Regions from separate parts of the Homo sapiens genome. Here regions 1 and 3 are each linked to region 2. Evidence: promoter capture Hi-C in 16 types of primary human blood cells and fetal thymus (Javierre and others, 2016). All regions are on one chromosome and are shown on one strand. The core of a region is centred on a gene start or on the middle of the fragment in contact, and the rest is flanking DNA. Distances in the headings are between cores, read along the strand shown. Region 1 overlaps FAM83F (family with sequence similarity 83 member F). Region 2 holds the start of MGAT3-AS1 (MGAT3 antisense RNA 1). Region 3 overlaps FAM83F (family with sequence similarity 83 member F).

The links. The method cuts DNA at HindIII sites, captures the fragments that hold promoters and counts their contacts. A CHiCAGO score of 5 or more calls a contact.
Region 1: a fragment that was not itself captured here is called in contact with the fragment with the promoter of MGAT3-AS1 in region 2 in 2 of 17 cell types (naive CD4 T cells and total CD4 T cells); the score reaches 5.5 in naive CD4 T cells.
Region 3: a fragment that was not itself captured here is called in contact with the fragment with the promoter of MGAT3-AS1 in region 2 in 1 of 17 cell types (total CD4 T cells); the score reaches 6.4 in total CD4 T cells.

The regions. Positions count from the first base shown.
Region 1 is chr22:40,018,292-40,020,991 of GRCh38, reverse strand. FAM83F (family with sequence similarity 83 member F) reads right to left here. Exons shown (of 5, transcript NM_138435.4): 2 at 1,657-1,824; 3 at 984-1,105. Among named protein-coding and RNA genes, the nearest start is that of FAM83F, 25 kb to the right of the region's middle. The HindIII fragment of the contact is 3,847 bases long and covers 1-2,700 here.
Region 2 is chr22:39,475,455-39,478,292 of GRCh38, reverse strand. It overlaps MGAT3-AS1 (MGAT3 antisense RNA 1), which reads left to right and starts at 1,471. Exons shown (of 2, transcript NR_126469.1): 1 at 1,471-1,835; 2 at 2,354-2,486. The region is part of intron 1 of MGAT3 (beta-1,4-mannosyl-glycoprotein 4-beta-N-acetylglucosaminyltransferase); the gene reads right to left. The HindIII fragment of the contact is 5,409 bases long and covers 1-2,838 here.
Region 3 is chr22:40,001,460-40,004,307 of GRCh38, reverse strand. All of the region lies in intron 1 of FAM83F (family with sequence similarity 83 member F), which reads right to left. Among named protein-coding and RNA genes, the nearest start is that of FAM83F, 7.9 kb to the right of the region's middle. The HindIII fragment of the contact is 1,169 bases long and covers 854-2,022 here.

The sequences.
Region 1 (2,700 bases), core at 195-2,694, 540 kb before region 2:
GTTCACAGGGTTGTTGTGAGGCACAAATGAAGTAACTCATATAAAACATTTAGCTCAGTCCCTGGCACAAACACACATTTAAAAAATAGTAACTGCAGCTGCCACTATTATGAATATTATTCTACTCTGTATTGGTTCTTTTCTGATTTTTTTAAGCACTTAGTGTCTGCAGAAACCCATACTCTGACCATGTGACAGGACTTACCCTGCTATTCACTGTTTCATGTGCTCAGCTCTCTCTTCTCGTCACCTATATTTTAATTTACTTGGAGGGCAGAGATTACACAGATACAGTCTCTCGTGTTCCTGCTAAATTATTTTAAAATCAGAATTCTGAGGCCAGGCTCACACCTGTAATCTCAGCATTTTGGGAGGCTGAGGCGGGCGGATCACTTGAGGTCAAAAGTTCGAGACCAGCCTGGCCAACATGGTGAAACCCCTTCTCTACTAAAAATACAAAAATTAGCTGAGCATGGTGGTAGGCACCTGTAATCCCGGCTACTAGGGAGGCTGAGGCAGGAGAATCGCTTGAATCCGGGAGGCAGAGGTTGCAGTGAGCCGAGATCATGCCACTGCAGTCCAGCCTGGGCAACGGAGCAAGACTCCGTCTCAAAAAAAAAAAAAAAAAAAAAAATTCTGGCGACATTCCCTGCACACCACACCTTCCCGTTTCTTTCCAGATCTGGTGCATCCCACTTCCTGCTTGTCCTACCTAATGACTAGCCTCAAAATGCAACTGGCTGCAAATGGACCATGAAAAACAGACAGTGCGTAATGCCTAGGAAGAGTTGACCCTCTTTTTAGAATAATCCATCAACCAGGAAGTTTGAGGGAAGGGACTGGGCAGAAAGCTGTCCTTTGCTATTGCGTCAGATGATCCCTGTTACACACTCATGATGACGGAGGCTCCGGTCTGGCATCTTCCTGAACACCTACCTGGAATCAAGGCCTCCTGGGCCCTTCTTTGATCCGGCCCAACTCACCTGTAAGATCCAGTGGCCACTTTGTCACCGTCCACCATCAGGAACCTTGATGACAGGGTCCCCTTGATCCTCCCCATGGGCATGTAGAAGCCGACGCCTGTCACAGAGCGGACACGGATGTTCTGTTGGGAAGAGCAGAAGGCCCTGTCACCTGGGTTGGGCCAGCCTCCGTGCCAGGTCCTTGCTTCTGCAGAGGAAGAGCCCCCTTGTGTATGGACCCTGCCTGCAGGCTCCTGTCTTCACTAGACGCTCTGCTTCCTACAGCCTTCCATAGGGAACCCTCTTTGGCGAGCAGGAAGAAGTCCCCAAATCTTGCTTCAGGCATGGACAAGCCCAGGGTGGTTCCTGCCTCTTCTCAAAAGGCCCCAGAAGAGAACAACAGCCCTCACTTTGACATCAGTGATTCTGCAGGCTAAGCACCCCAGGACCAGCCCAGAGCTCCCTCCTTCAGTCTCAGCAGCCTAGGGATAAAATTGAAACTGGGCATATGATTCAGTAGTTAACAGTAAAGCCAAGGTTAAAGGCTTGACTTTCAACAAAAGGAAAGGTGTTGAGATCTTGAAGTTCGCCTGAGCCCCCATTCAGGGAAGAGGCAGGGGGGAGCTGCAGGACGGGGCAGAGGTAGTCTCTGTCTCATCTCCTGTCCACTTTCCACCCCAGTGGTGCAACTTACCCGAATCCGGAAGTCAGTGAGCTGCAGGTCCTGACACATCTCCAGGAAATACTTCACTCCTGCCTCGTCCAGGATGATGTACACTGGGACCCGGCGCTTACAGGCAGCATCCACAATGTCTTGAAAGATATCACCATCAGTGAAGAGGTCCATGACCACAGCAATGACCTGGGTGGGGAAAGGCACTGGTGAGGCACACGGTGTCTACACGCCCACAGAGGCATGCCCTGCTCAGATGGTACCACCTCGCCCTGGGGTCACTGGTGGCCAAGAGTCAAAAACTCCACCTGTACCATTCCTGGAGTTCCACGTCCCCCGATCTTTGAGCATATCTGAGCCCTGGAGATGGGCCTGGGGGTGCAGGCCGTGTGCTTGTACTTCATCCTGGACAAATCCCCACCTCCCCATCCTGGGGGTCTTCCAGCAGCTCTTAAGAAACTGTATCAGGGCCAGGCAAGGTGGCTCACACCTGTAATCCTAGCACTTTGGGAGGCCAAGGCAGGTGGATCACCTGAGGTCAGGAGTTTGAGACCAGCCTGGCCAACATGGTGAAACCCTCTATTAAAAATACAAAAAATGGGCTGGGCATGGTAGCGGGCACCTGTAATCCCAGCTACTTGGGAGGCTGAGGCAGGAGAATTGCCTGAACCTGGAGGCAGAGTTTGCAGTGAGCCAAGATTGCGCCGTTGCACTCCAGCCAGGGCAACAAGAGCGAAAAAAAAAAAAAAAATTAGCCAGGCGTGGTGGCAGGCACCTGTAATGCCAGCTACTGGGGAGGCTGAGGCAGGAGAATTACTTGAACCCAGGAGATGGAGGTTGCAGTTAGCCGAGATCGTGCCATTGCACTCCAGCCTGGGTGATAGAGACTGTCTCAAATAAATAAATAAATAAAATGGAATAAAGAAGCCATATCATGGGAGATCTAGGGGCCTGAGGAAAGTTGCTCCTGACACCCTAGAAAAACAAGCAGGCACAAGGAGATGCCATCACGGAGATGCCAGGGGTGGGCTCATCTCCGTGAGCCACACATCTGCTCAAACATCA
Region 2 (2,838 bases), core at 222-2,721:
ATTTTGGAGGATGCCAGAAACAACCTCAGTCTCTACTTCTGGGCAGGAAGTAGCCCATCCACTGCCCCCAGCCCTGGTACACCTTGGGGTGGACCCGCACTACCTCTCCAGGAGTTAGTTCAACTGTACGAAAGGGCTTCGCGCTGAAGCCCGTCTCCCTGTGCTCACCTTCCACCCGGCCTGGTCCTGCCCCATGTGACCTAAGGGCTCTGCCACCTCCAAAAAGAAGGCAGGAGGCACATCTTTGCAGCAATCCCTGCCATGTACAGCAGCTCCTGGGGCACAAGGTAGGCCAGTGGCCACAATGGCCAGATCCGAACACTGCTTGTGGCCTTGGCAAGTCACTCTGCCTCCCCGTGCCTCAGTTTCCCCCTCCACGATACGGAGGTATAACCGTTTCTGTCTCACAGGGTTGTTGTGAGAGTTGAGTGAGTTAATCCCCGCAAAAAGCTAGGGACCATGCCTAAGCACACAACAGATGCTCAGGACACGCCGGCTCCACTGTTACTGGAAGTCTGGAGGATTTGGTTTGAATCCCAGTGCCATGACTTACTTGCTGTGTGCCCTTTGGCAAGTTACTTAGCTTCTCTGGTCCTCAGTCTTCTCCGATCTAAAAGAAAGATGTCACCCTCTGTTTTGCAGTCCTGTGGGAGACCTGGCTGAGCCACGGTGTCAAAGCATTCTGCATGGAGCCTGGCCATTGGCAGAGGTTCTATAAATGCATGGTTTTTTTTTTTTTTCTTTCCTTCCATTTGGGTTTCCCGCTGGACGACCAAATACAGATGACCCCCTGAATATGCCAGGCCTTGCTCCTGACCGGCTTTATTTCCTTTAAGAAAGGTAACAAAGACACCTTTGTTAAGGTACAAAAGGAGGTGGGCCAATTGCGGGGCTGCTTCACCCTGACTGGCACCCTCAGCCTGTAGGGCCTTTCTCAGTAACTCACCAGGCATTCAGGACCTAGGCCAGAATCTGCGGAATCCGGCCCAGCCGAGGCCTGCAGACTCCTCTCCTGGGTCCAGAGGGCCTGCAAGTAAGAATTTGGTCCAAGGCTTCACCCCAGGCCAGTGCCTCTGCATGTCCACTCCCACGGGCCGCCCATTCCAATCCCTTTGGGCTGCTAGAAGTTCTTCCTTCTGTTGACCTTCATCAGTTTCCCTGGAGCTTCTGCTACTGGTTCCTTCCCTGGGGTATGGCAGAGGGAGTCGGCATCTCAGGAGTCAGAAGACAGTGAGCACCTCCCCGGACTCTGAAACTAAATGCAGCTTGAGGTTTCAGGATCCCACATGGGGAGACAGGTAGAGGCGGTGGCTGCAGAACATGGCCGATCCTGGAGTCCCGGCGAGACTGAAGAAACAACTGCTGCTCTGCTGTCCTCCCCTCTCATCATCTGACTCACTCCTTTGACTGACAACCATCCACAGGGACGCCTACACAAAGTGGTCACTCTGCAGTCGACGTATCATCCCAGCTACTGGTGGTCATCGGGGACGCAGATATGTGTGTCTCCATTTTGCAGATGAGGACATGGAGGCCTCAAGAGGTTAAGTGACTTGCTCAGCCACACACAGCTGATGGGAATGAAACAGACGGAAACGGAGACTCCCCAAGCTGACAGGCGGACTACAGATCTGGGGGTTCTGCTCCAGGCTCAACACAAGTGGCCTGGGCGAGGGAGGGCCTGGTAGACCATGACACCCAGCATCGAGGAATTCTGCTTCCCCAGCAGGCTCAGAAGGAAGAAGTCTGCTTCAGGGGCCAGGCCTGGTCAAAGACTCCATCTTCCCTGGATGGCCAGAGTCAAATCCTTGCAAATCCCGTTCACCATGGAGCAGGTGAGACAGCTTCTGCTGTGCCCACCCATGGATGAAGAAACTAGGCCAACAGAGGAGAGACAGAGCTACAAGGGGAGCAGTTCTTAGATTAGGCAGGCAGGGTTCAGGAAAGACAGGGTGCCCAGGCCACCAGAATACCCACGAGAGTCTGGGCCTCATGGAGTCAGCCCCACTCTCTGCTGGCTCAGCTCCAGGGTGGAGGCCTTGCCAAAGGCTCAGCCCAAGACCCATCCCAAGAGCCCTTTCCATGGCAACCCCACCCCTCCCCCACCTCCAGTCCCTGTGCACCACTCTCTCCCCTCCAAACCCATCCCCATCAGCTGATCCCAGCTCCCTGCAGGCTGCCTGAGGACTTTCCCACGGAGTGGCCGGCAAGTGCCTGGGAAAGTTGGTTCCCAAAGCTGGGATCTACCCCTGCTAGGACTCCACCCCTCCTGCACTGGTCACTGGTCCATTCAGGACATCAGCTCCTCATCCCCAGAGGCTCATTCCATAATGTTTTTGTTTTTGTTTTTTAGAGACGAGACCTATGTTACCCAGGCTGTATGTGAATTCCTGGACTCAAGCAATCCTCCCATCTCAGCCTCGTGAGTAGTTGGGACAAGTCTCACACCACCATACCCAGCTTAATTTAATTTGAATTTTAATAGCTGCATGCTCTAGTGGTTCCTACGTTAGACTGTGCAGTTTAGACTGAACGGAGAGGGCAGGAGGCAGGGAGTCAACCGGGTCCATCGTGCCAGCACCGCTGGAGAGATGGGGCTGCACTGAGGGAGGACCCTCATGGGGACAGTCACAGAGCTGGAGCAAGGGAGCATCCCAGGGCGCCAAGCCTGAGAGACGGCCCGTGATGAAGGGGAGGGCCAGGGGCGGGGCAGTGGTGAGCTGATGCCAAGGTCTTGGCTGAGAGAGGCTCATAGAGCATTGGTTAACTACAGGAGGGAGGGATGCAGCTCTGGGGGGCTGCCTGACACCAGGGTGCAGGGGCATTAGGCAGGTGATT
Region 3 (2,848 bases), core at 189-2,688, 530 kb before region 2:
AAAATAAAATAAAATAAAATAAAATAAAATAAAATAAAATTCTAAAAGGGCTGGCATTTGCCTAGCACTTATATGCCCAATAAGTAATAGCTATCAATATCCCCACCCCTACCACTGTGCTGAAATTTAGTTTCTTTTTGTCACCCCCCATTAGACTTAAGGCAGAATTCTCACCGTACTCCTCTGTAAATTTCTGGTTCCTGGCACATAGTTGGGTCTCAGTGAAACATGGTGAGTGAATGAGCAAATGCAAGGAATCTCCAGGCCATCTGGGAGCCCTCCCAGGCGGGTGAGTTCGGGAAACTCATAGTCTGTCCTCAATGGCCCACTGAAAGGTAGAGAGTTCTGGGTCCCACCTCCGCACCCCCATCTCCTGACTCACTGCTGAAAAATAAATAAATAAATAAAATAACACTTATCCGGAGCCTCCCACATGCCTTGCCAGGACTGCAAGGAGCCCAGCAGAATGATGACCGGCGTGCAAGCTGTGCCCCGGCGTGCATATGTTTCCAGATTATTGGAAACCTGGGCCAGAGAGACTAATAATTAGAAAAGCCATAGGCTCTCTTCCAGGGCTAAGATTATGGGATCATTAGCAAGTCCACAGACTCTGATTTCAGAGAATGAACAAGGAAACTGGGAAGGGCAGCAGCTCCAGCTGAGGCCGGCTGGTCATGGCACCTGGCATGGTGTGTGGGGGTGGGGGCAGGCAGGGATAGCTAGAATGACTCAGCCTTGGGGGTGGCTCAGGACACCCCCCCTGAGCAGGGGGCAGGTGGTCAGCTAGGACGCAGCCCTGGGCTCATTTGTTCTCTGCCCTCCTCCCCACCTCCCCCAGCTTGGATTGGAAGCTTGTCCCCAAATAGGCTCTGCTTTGCACGCTCTAAGAAAAGGGAGGCAGATCTGGCCACCAGCCAAGGTGAGGCAGCATCCCTGGGGGTGAGAAGATGGGGGGACTGACAGTTGCTGGGCTAGGATTCACTTCAAGGTCTCAGCCTGTCAGGGAGGGGCGTAAGTCCCAGGGGGCCAGAAAGTGGCCATAAAGAGGACAATCTAGGTCTCTGGAGAAACTACCTGTACCCAGCTTCCCTGTGTTACCTGCCTCAATGTCACTAGGCAGGAGGAACCCTCTTCCCCAGCCTTAGCACAGAGTGGACCAGCTGGCAGTTGTGTACTTGTCTGTCTCTAGAACTGGTCCAAGAGCCTCCCAGGGCCTGGCTGGCGACATACAGACTTTGAATGTTTCTGCAAGTTTTAGAGGAAGAGATGGCCCCAGAGGACAATTCCCAAGGGCAACTGCCGTGGATGGACACCACTTTGAGCTGAGACCTGGGTGGAATCTCCCCCAGCCTCTTCTGAGTTCTGCAACCTTATGCTTTCCCGGAGCCTCAGGGAAAATATCTCTTCCTTTGCAAGGTGCTGAGGGTTGGATTAACGAAACGAAATGGCACACAGGGCACCGATCCTGTCACTCAACATTAGCCCTTCTTCAGAGAAATCCCTTTTACTGCACGCATCACTCACCCTTCTCAAAGTGCTTTCTCATAGCCTTGAACTAGGTTCTCAGAACAATTTGTGGAAATAAGAAGGCAAGAATTATCCCCATGTTAGAGATGCAGAAACAGAGGCCCAGCAAAGCTAAATGATGTACCCCACGTCACCCAGTGAGCTAGGAAAGAGATGGCCAGGGCAAAAATGACGATTCCCAGGCTCCTGGCTCCCAGCCGCATGGGATCCCTCCACCCGCCAGTGGCCTGGACTTTTGGAGACCTCCACCCAACAGAACTGGCTTTGCTACCGTGAACCTTCAAGAGAAGGTCATGAAGTTTACTGAGGCCCCAACTTCTACTTTTGAACTTTCTGGGAAACACCCATCCTCAGAGGTTCAGGGACCCAAAGTATCGGATTTCAGAGGAGCCAACTCTCCCCTCCCTCTTCCCCAAAGAGGGAAACACAGCCCAAGGCAATGATTACATCAGGGTTAACCATCAGCAGCTCCACCCTCTTGTTCCAATGAAAGCTTTAGTTCTCCAGAACTAAAAGAACTTGGGGAGTCTTTCCAGGCTGCCCTGGGGCTCTCTGGGCTGGGCCTGTGCAGCAGTCTGGCCCTTCAGGATGACCGTGTGTGGGGAACATCCTCAGGGGACCCCCGCTTTAGGAACAAGGAAGCCTCTGCACCTTCCTGCTTTATCCCTCTCTGCCCATGCCAGATCCCAGCATAGATCCTGGGCTGAGGATTCCAACGCCACAGCCTCCCGAAGGCAGCTCGGAGGCCGGCAGAAAGCTGCCCTTACCAACCACGGCCCACCACCACCAAATCAAGGCAAACAGATCAATACAGTGAGCGGCTGGGAGGGCTGTGGGCAGCCACTCCTGTCTCGCTCAAAGGTGGAAACAGGAAACACGCCGGCACAGGGTCTTTGGCCCTCCCAATTCCCCTACCTCTAATCTCCTGGGTGGGGCTCCCTAACTTCTGGGGAGAAAATTTGGCCACCCTTCCCTCCTCTGCTCTGCAAAAAGGCAGAGATGACAGCAGTTACTTTCTAAAATAATGAACATTTGTATGATACTTTCCAGTATCCTCAGCTTTCACACATGGTTTCTCCCTTGTTTTTCTTATCTTTTTGGGTTTTTTTGTTTTGTTTTTTATTTATTTATTTTGAGATAGAGTTTCACTCTGGCACCCAGGCTGGAGTGCAGTGGCGAAATCTCTGCTCACCGCAACCTCCACCTCCCATGATCAAGCAATCCTCCTACCTACCCAGCTCAGCCTCCAGAGTAGTTGGGATTACAGGTAGACACCACCACATCTGGCTAATTTTTGTACTTTTTGTAAAGATGGGGATTT